Linked DNA regions of Homo sapiens: region 1 is linked to region 2. Evidence: promoter capture Hi-C in human tissues and cell types (Jung and others, 2019). All regions are on one chromosome and are shown on one strand. Each heading gives the region's core, a stretch centred on a gene start or on the middle of the fragment in contact. The rest is flanking DNA. Distances are from core to core; before and after follow the strand shown.

The links. Contacts are between HindIII fragments. The study calls those that stand out against the background at their distance.
Region 1: a contact is called between a fragment that was not itself captured here and the fragment with the promoter of CLRN1 in region 2, in 2 of the 25 tissues and cell types used here (hippocampus and small bowel).

Annotation. Positions count from the first base shown.
Region 1 is chr3:151,108,542-151,112,992 of GRCh38, forward strand. All of the region lies in intron 2 of MED12L (mediator complex subunit 12L), which reads left to right. Among named protein-coding and RNA genes, the nearest start is that of MED12L, 25 kb to the left of the region's middle. The HindIII fragment of the contact is 3,879 bases long and covers 1-3,716 here.
Region 2 is chr3:150,970,429-150,975,043 of GRCh38, forward strand. CLRN1 (clarin 1) reads right to left here and starts at 2,299. Exons shown (of 3, transcript NM_174878.3): 1 at 2,028-2,299. The coding sequence starts at 2,280. It overlaps CLRN1-AS1 (CLRN1 antisense RNA 1), which reads left to right and starts at 2,250. Exons shown (of 6, transcript NR_024066.2): 1 at 2,250-2,665. The HindIII fragment of the contact is 11,205 bases long and covers 1-4,615 here.

The DNA of each region.
Region 1 (4,451 bases), core at 527-3,026, 140 kb after region 2:
GCTATAAAACCATGAAAAGTGTTTTGTTTGTTCTGAGTAAGACTTGAGCTAACTCAGCCTTCTTGACTAGCGCATAGAGGGATATTTTTCTACTTCTGTGGCTTTCTCATCCCTGGTGGACATTTCTGTCCAATTCATTGAATCGTCATGGAACTGGTTTGTTAGATGTGACTAGGGGACGGAAAAAATTGGGAGTTTCTGCGCATGTTCTGTGCGATAGAGGGTGACGCTCAGGAGGTTGTGAGTGTCTGTAGTATGTATTTGTGTGCATTATCTGACTTTGAGATGGCCATTGAAAATTGTGTTAAACTGAGCTTATTTTTTTCTTGAGTGCAAAAGAGCTTAAGAAATTCCCAAACTAGCATCAAAATGTTTTCACTTTCCCAGTGAAACATTTCATTGAAATTAAAAGATTGCTTTGAAAGTGATCCAAAAAATAAGATCATTCTGTGAAGTTCAAGGTAAATGCATGAGATTTATGGATGCAGTTGGAGGTTACCCGAAGTATCGAAGGTCTGAATTTTTTTTTTTTTTGAGATGGAGTCTCGCTCTGTCGCCCAGGCTGGAGTGCAGTGGCGCAATCTCGGCTCACTGCAACCTCTGCCTCCCGGGTTCAAGTGATTCTCCTGCCTCCCGAGTAGCTGGGACTACACGCAGCCACCAGCCACCACGCCCGGCAATTTTTTTGTATTTTAAGTAGAGACGGGGTTTCACCGTGTTAGCCAGGATGGTCTCAATCTCCTGACCTCTCGGGATCTGCCTGCCTCGGCCTCCCAAAGTGCGTGAGCCACCGCACTGGGCCGAAGGTCTGATTTTTGTTATCAGTGTAGAATACAAAAATACAGAGTGAACACAGGCCTTACATATTAGCATGGACTATTTTCTGGACTTTGGTTTCTGTTTCTCTCTGTGTGCCTGTCTCCCTCGAATTGCTTTAAAGCTTGTTATTTTAGTCGAAACCAATGACAAGAGGTGTGAGAGTTCTCCTTTCTCTATGTTTGGATTACTTTGTTGTAAATCTGTTGAAATCCATGTGCACAATGGTTTGGTGCACTGCTACTCTGGGCCGCTTGGTGAGGACTGTGAATTCACATTCTCAGCTGGCATTGTCTCTTGGCTTAGTTAATACTTGGTCTTGGACATGTGTGTACAACTATTTTGCCCTAGATGCTGTTAATGTTAAACATATTTAAAAGTATGTCTGGATTCATGGTCTCTTCTGCTTCCCAACAGTTATTAAAAGTGCTTTATTTTTTCTCTTACTTTCCATGTTGTACAACAGGAAGATGTGCAGCCTTTAGTAAGAGTCCTTTTAAAAGGTTCAGTGCTGTTGATCTGGTTCCCAGAGCACGACCCTGGGAACAGGATCTTGACTAACTGTTGTGTGTGCCTCACGTTTTTGGGATCTTAGTTGCCTCACCTTTGCAGATGGGCAAAGTAGTTGCTGGAAGTTCTATTATAAGAACTGTTGGCTAGATATAGTGAACAAGCTTAAATCTCTGTAAGGAAAGGCGTCGTAAGAATTTTGGTGGCTGTTACCCTCCATTATTTCAAGACATCTTTGAAGAGGTTTGGGGCTAGTACAAGAGGAAGCTATTTGTGTCCCTTAAACATTCTGGCTTGGGGGTTTTAGAGGCATGCTGTTCCAAAATTTGGACTCTCCTCTTTCTATTTTTGCCTGATTAGACTTGACAAAAGCCTTCAGAGCAGTGTCATAAAAGTTTGTTATTTGAGTTCAGGTGACACGCATTACCTCTTGTTTGGAACCTCTTAATGCTGCCTAATACCATTAAGTGTCCATGTCCAGCCCAGTTTCCCAAACTTGGGGTCTAAGGACTCCCTGAGGCTGTGGTTTTCCTCTAAAAGGGGTCTATTGGTGCATTACTGGAGTTTGAGAAATAATGTCTAAGCAACAATAGTTAACACTCTGGAACTTGAATCTTATTCTTATCTTTTGGATTTTTGTCATTGATGTTAACTCTTCTCAGAAACTTCAGGAAATAGACCATCAAGGTGCATTTTTTTGGTTGTGATACTCTGGATTTTTACCTCCTTTCACTTAGTTTCTCTAGGTCCCTGACCTAAAGTTTTGTACTAATAAACCTCACAGAAGTGACAGCTTCTTTTTTGGCTCTGTGGCCCTAGTGTTCTATAGGAAGTTAAAGGAGTGAAGTGAAAACTTTATACGCTTGGTTCCTTCCTGGATCTGTATGTATGTTTGTGTGTGTGTGTGTGTAGCTTTGCATTTGTGCCCTTACAGTGAGAGAAGGAAGGGGGTATGGTAGAGAATTCTGAATGGACTTTTCCTCTTGGGATCTGCTGCTGTTGAGCCAAGATGGGACATCCATTTTCTTCCTGGTGGTGAGACCTGTACTGGCACTGGGCATGGAAACCCCGGTTTTCTAGAGAGGCAGAAACCTCAACTCTTCATGTTAGCATGGTCTCTGTATCAGCATCACCTGGGAAGTTGTTAGAAATACAGATTCTCAGGCACCACCCCTGACCTACTGAAGTGGGAACTCTGTGGGTGGGACCAGCAGCTGTGCTTTAGCAAGTTCTTCAGAGGATTCTGATAGATGTAAAAGTTAGAGAGCCACTGCTTTAAGGAAAGGGTCTTTTTATTTTCCCAAGAAGGTTTTTTGTATCTCTTCTGACTGGAGCTTCAGGTTATCACTTTCTGGAACCAAAAATATGATACGAACAATAGCAGCAATGCTAATTGCCAGCCATTTTTATATGGTTTGATGGTTGGGAGCATAGACTTTTTGGAATTCTTCACTACTGTGTGACCTTGGTCAAGTTAGTTTCTCTCTGGGCTTTATTTTTTTTTGAACTGGGTTATGGAGATAACATGGTAGAAACTATTACTATCCCCGTTTTACAATTGAGGAAACGGAGGCACAGCAATGGTCCCAGAGCTTGCTTAGAGTCCCTCTTAAATGGAGTAGGGGGTTTAAATTCGAGCTGTCTGATTGCAGACCCTGGGCTCTTACCCACAGTGCTGTCCCCACTCTTGTCTGCATCTCCATCAGTCAGTCTTAGCTGGTGCCAGCGTGTATCCACCTGGAACCACAACTGCGAGCCAGAGGATGGCCTAGTGAGTTGGAATTAGAGCATCCCCATTGTTGTCGTGTTGCAGCACGAGCAAGATTTTGACTGACACTTCAGTATGGAGCTCAGTGTTTCTTAAACCCAGAGCCTGTGAACCTCCTTTTCAGAATAGGGCTCTAAAAGATAAAAGCTATCCCTCTGGTGGGTCTGTGGCTCTCACTGGAAGTGCTGTGGAAATCTGGGCGGGGAAGAGGAGTTAGTTGGTTGTGGCTGCTACCATTGAGTGGGTGGGGCTGTCTTCAGTGCGCGGATGGGTGGGTTCCATGAAAAATTGTCCTGTGTCCCCTGCACTTTCAGATGTGTCACTGAAACCTTCAACTGTTTTTTTCCCATCTCAGATGGGAATCTGTTTTACGTATGATCTCAAAGTATTTTTTGTATGATTTTAATATACATTTAATACACACTGAGTTTCTGAGGAATATAACTGTTGCGTCTTACTATGTTGGGAGACTATTTTGTTAGTTTGAAACTGTAGCAAGAGTGTATCACAGTTTCAAAAAATTCATGTTATGCTCTTCCTGATCATTTGAAATGGCAATACAGCACACCTGTATCAGTTTGCATTTTGTAGTTACTATGTTGTGCTAATGCTAGGAATAGGAGCAAACATTTAACAATTTCTTTTTCTTTTTTTTTTTTTTTTGAGATGGAGTCTCGCTCTGTTGCCCAGGCTGGAGTGCAGCAGCACGATCTCTCCTCTCTGCAACCTCCACCTCTCGGGTTCAAGCAATTCTCTGCCTTCTAGGGCCCTGCTTCTTCAAAGTCTAATGTGTCCATGAATCATGTGGGAATTTGTTAAGAGGCTGATTGTGACTCTGGGGGAGGAGTGAGATTCTGCCTTTCTAACAGGCTTGCAGGTAATGCCAGTGCTCCAGGGCCATGGACCACACTTTCAGTTGTGAGAGTCCATTGTAGTGTGCCTGAGCGTTTCCTGTTGAAGTGCCTATTTTAAGTTACTTTCCTTTTTAAAAATTTTAGAACGAGAGCATTATATTGATTAAAAAATATTGATATAGGTAAGTTATCTATGAATTTCATTTCACACTAGGGAAATCGATGTTATAAAATGTTTGTTTTCAGGATGGTGTGTGGGGTTTGATGGGTTGAGTGCCCCTACTCTGGGTGACAAAGCAGTGCTAGTTAGAAACACAAATGAAATTACAACTCCAAATTCATGAGGTAGTGACTCAGAATATGCTCATGTTAATTGTTCAGAATAGGATGTCTTTCATTTATTCTTTGAACAAATATTTATTGAACAGCTGCGATGTGTGCTATTTGCCAGGCACTGCATCTGTGCACTCTGTGCTTGGCCTGCGTTTGTCAACAAAATAAAG
Region 2 (4,615 bases), core at 1,049-3,548:
TCCTCTTTGGGGAGTCCATTGGATCTATTTATTTTGGTTTTCCCAACTCTGTCTCATGCTGCATTGAAAAAGATACTTTTATGCTTAGGAAAAAAAAAAAAGCTCTACTGTAAGTATTCTTAGCTGGGCCTCACCAAAATGAATGAGATTTTTAACATGTATAGTATATACAGTACACTTAATATGTATAGTCTATTGTATATTGATGGAGCTGTCACTGCAGAATGAACAAGTAAATGGAAGATTTTCTTCACTAGGCTAGGGGGAGAATGTCAGGGGTATCTGGGAGCTAATGAAATTCTGTGAGATAAGTGAGGGTACTGTTTAAACCCCACCAGTTCTGCAAGTCCTCACAGAAAGCAAAAGGAGGGGCACCCAATTAGAACAACTTCATCCTTAGACAGGACAAGCATAGGACACAACCACAAAAATCATTCGCTAAACCCCAGAAGAATGTGGCTGTGTAAGGATTAAATGAGACAAAGCATATAAAGTGCTTAGTATGTAGTAAGTGTTCAGAAAACATCTTATTATTGTTTTGAAACATGTCCTATGGCATGAGTAAAGTTTATCTCCATTTCACTGTAGAAAATGTAAAGGCTCCAGAAAATTCACCAGTACCTTCTCCGCTTTTGTCTAAATTCATCTGTGAGAAGCTTTACTCACGCTTTGGCTGCCGGTGACTCACGGTTAAATCATCTCTCTCAACTTTTTTCCTTTTCGGTTTTTTAATACAGTTGCATATCACATGACATTCTGCTTTGTTTTCTTCCTTCCCCTTCCCCAGGAAAACTAAGCAACTCTAACAGCCCCATTACCTTAATGAATAAAAGCCATTCAGTGAAAAGAACTGGTATCCACTTCATCAATTAAAAAGCTAACAACCAATTCTTGGAAATTTTCTGGAGCCCTATGAAAATTCATATCACTTAGTAACCTATGTGAGCTGAAGGTTGGTGTCCAATGACTGCTAAGAAGATATAAGGAATGTTGCAGAAATATAAATAGACCAGCACTGAAATTTAATTAGGCACTGCATATGTTAATAATAAATTCAATTAATTTAGCCTTCTACCTATACTAGAAAGAAAAAAAAAACCTGGGCAAAATAATAATTCATTTTAAATGCTTCAGTTGGTAACCTCCTTTCCTGAAGAGTGATTTATGCAGTAATTTACTGACTGTGTCTTCATAAGGTTGTTCCAAACCAGCCCTTCTGAAATAATAATAACTTCTGAATGTGTGTTGTAAGAGATATAACAAATGACTTCCTATTAATTTTCATTTAATGAGTTGCCTATTCACATGGTAATTTTTAAAAATTCTCTTCTTAAGATAAACAGGTTATAAATACTGTGGATTACACTTCCATTTCACAAAAATCACAACAAGAAAATCTCTCTCATATTCTCTACATGATTTGCAGGTCAATCAGTTTAAAATGTTCTATACTAAATAGGCATCCATTTCTTTCCCAGTTAGCACAGCAGATCATTTTAAATTTCTATAGCCAAATGATTCCAAATTAGTTAAAAATGAAAACTGAATATTTAGCAGCAGGAAAGGTCTTAGCAGGAATAATGGGAGGGAGTGGGGAGCAGGAAACAAAATCATGAGAAAGGTGGCAACCTGGTTAAATACGGAGCCCATGACCTTGGTTCTTTTTATAAAGAACAAAAAGCATAAAGATCATTCTTTACAGCTTTCCTATTTCCCCAAGTTTACTTTTTTAAAAAGACTCCATAATTTTTTACATAAATATTAATACTTAAGCATCTTAATTGCCAATATTTCCAAAAACCTTAATTATGTAACAATGAATTAACTCTATATTATAATAAAAAGCAAGTATAAAATAATAAAAACTAGGAAGAAGAAATTGCTCAGAGTCATAGGTTTTTCATATGGTTCACACCGATTTAAAAAGTCCTGCAGTAAACACGGCAAAATTCTCAAATATAATTCCTCGCAACACTGGGAAGAGTCTGCCTAAAGCATTAAATAACTCAAATGCAATTGCTACTTACATGAGAACCGAAAGGGCCTTGCTCCCAACCCACACTGCCTCACACCCTCTCCGTGGAAAAGCCCGTACTGCATTTCACCCATAAACTTGTCCAGCTCCTGCCCTGAGGCATTGACGAGCAGAGCTCCCGTTTTGCAGAGGACAGTGGCTTTGATCCACAACGGTGTCCCCAAGGCTGTCACAACTCCGAGGGCACATGCAAAACTGAACACTCCGGCCATGCAAAAAATGATTTTCTTCTGTTGGCTTGGCATGATGAGAAACGGCTTCTGTGAGGGCGAGGTTCAAAAACAAGACCTTTGTGAGCAATGGGAAGGGACTGCCTCTTTGACTGCATTTATTACGGAAGCTGAACGGACAGCTCCCAGCTGAAAAGGCAACTTCACCATCGACGGTTCTCGCCAGGTTAAATGTCAGTAGATGAAGGCCTCATCATCACTCATACTTGGCTTTTCTCCTTTTCTGCTGCTTCTTCTCCCTAATTGGAAATCTTTGGACTAAGAATCTGTAAAACAAGTCTTTCAAACTGCCTTCAAGTATCTCCTCTGTGTCACTTGGTAACAAAGGTCGAAGATAACAGATGGAGTCCTCAGTGTAACTTGATAAATGTTTCCCTTCCTCAGCCTTTTGTCTGATTGGGTGAGTTGAAACTTTCAGAAACAGGCTTGAATCTGATGGTACATTTTCAGCAACTTGAGAAGTTCACTTATCGATGTTTTTATTTTTGTTTTTTGTTTGTTATTGTTTTTGGTGGTGGGGGAAGGAGCTTTAGCAGAGGTAGGGAGAACATATGTACCTGTATTGATAGTTGATGTCAAAAATTTTTAATTACAGCAGGATAAAAATATTAAACAGAATTTGGTCCTACACGAATATTAAGTGCTCTGGATCAACCATGGGTCCTTGTCCTTCCAACTTAATTTCTCCCAGATCCATGGTTTATACCTAATGTATCAATAGAGAATTTGATTCAAATTTTTCTTGGCATACAGAAATATGAAAATGCAGGAGCAGATATCTAGATTTCTAAATGCTTTCCTTTAACAGGCTTAGCTGCTTTAGGATAATAGCAAGGGAATGTGTTTCTGGGTCCAAGGAATACCAGGATCTGTAAAGATAAGGGCATATTGATGGAAAGAGGGATGGTGGTCAGATAGGTGACTCTATGGATTCATCATAAAAATGCACAGGTCTCAGCAAAGGTAATCTGTTTGGGAGACTAGAGACAGTTATGAGCAAAGATTAAGCAGCAGGTAGGTCTGGTTAAACGGTCAAGACCTGGAAACTAAAGTTCAGAATTCAGTAACAGCTTTTTAACTTTGCATTTCCAATGAGATTCCTCCTTCTACAGACACAGGACTGTGTGTGTGTGTGTGTGTGTGTGTGTGTGTGTGTGTGTGTGTGTGAAGTGTCTAGTGAATGTTTATTATATGCCATGTTATTGTCCTGAGCTCTGACCTACAAAGTTAATGTTTAGTAAGAACTTATGTCTGGCAACTTGTGAAGTATTCTACCTAAATTATCATATGTAATTCTCATAATTAGCATATAAAGTAATGAAGAAGAGGAAGAAGAAGAGGAGGGAGGAGGAGAAGAAGGAGGAGGAGGAGGAGAAAGGAAGAAGGAAGAAGAATAAGAAAGAAGAAAGAAGAAGAAAAAGCAATTATTCGTATCTTATATATAAGGGAATTGAGGCTCAGAGAGTTTAAGCAACTTGCTGAAGAGAGTAGTGGAGCTGGGATTCAAATCCAGGTCTTCTACTTCTGAGGTTGATGTTCTATTCCAAGCAAAGCCCCTGACCTTGAAAAGATGGCAAACATTTCAGTTTGGGTTGGGTTCGTCTAGGAGTAACAGGGGCAGACTAGCCCATTATTAGTTACACATATTGAGTGTTTGAAGAACACAGACATCAGTAAATAGAACTTTTTCAGTTGGCCAAAAGCACATGTGTATGCTAGCTTCTATTCTTTTGATCCACCTTTAAGCATGACAGCTTAGAGGAAATTAATAAATGAAGACTTATTTCACACCATTTTCAGCATAAATGAGTCTCTACATTATGCACACTTCGAAGGGAACTTTGAGGTATAGACTCGGAGTACTGGTAAACTTCTCTCACAGCTCGCCTCTCCTAGGAGTCGCAACAGCCAGTCTCGTTAAGGACAGACAACTAAGTATAGAACTCATTCTAGAATGCCAATGTACCTTCGGGGAGAAGAGGGGCAATATAAAACATGGCCACAGAAGAACTGGGCATATAGAAGATTCCAAAGAGGCACTTAAAATAAAGTTTACAATATTAGTAAGTCTTTTTTATTTTGTATAACTTAACACAGAATAAGCAACTCATCCCAGTTTATTTGGCCTTCCAATGAATTCACCACTGGATTTAGAATAATTGCTAGAACACAGAATAAGCAACTCATCTCAGTTTATTTGGCCCTCCAATGAATTCACCACTGGATTTAGAATAATCGCTATCATGGTCCACTAGCAAAACAAGGGGGTGCCAGTGCCCCTGATAAGTGGTTATTTGGGCATATATGTGCCACAGTCACCCTAGAAAACTTAGTTTAAGATGTCTAAGCA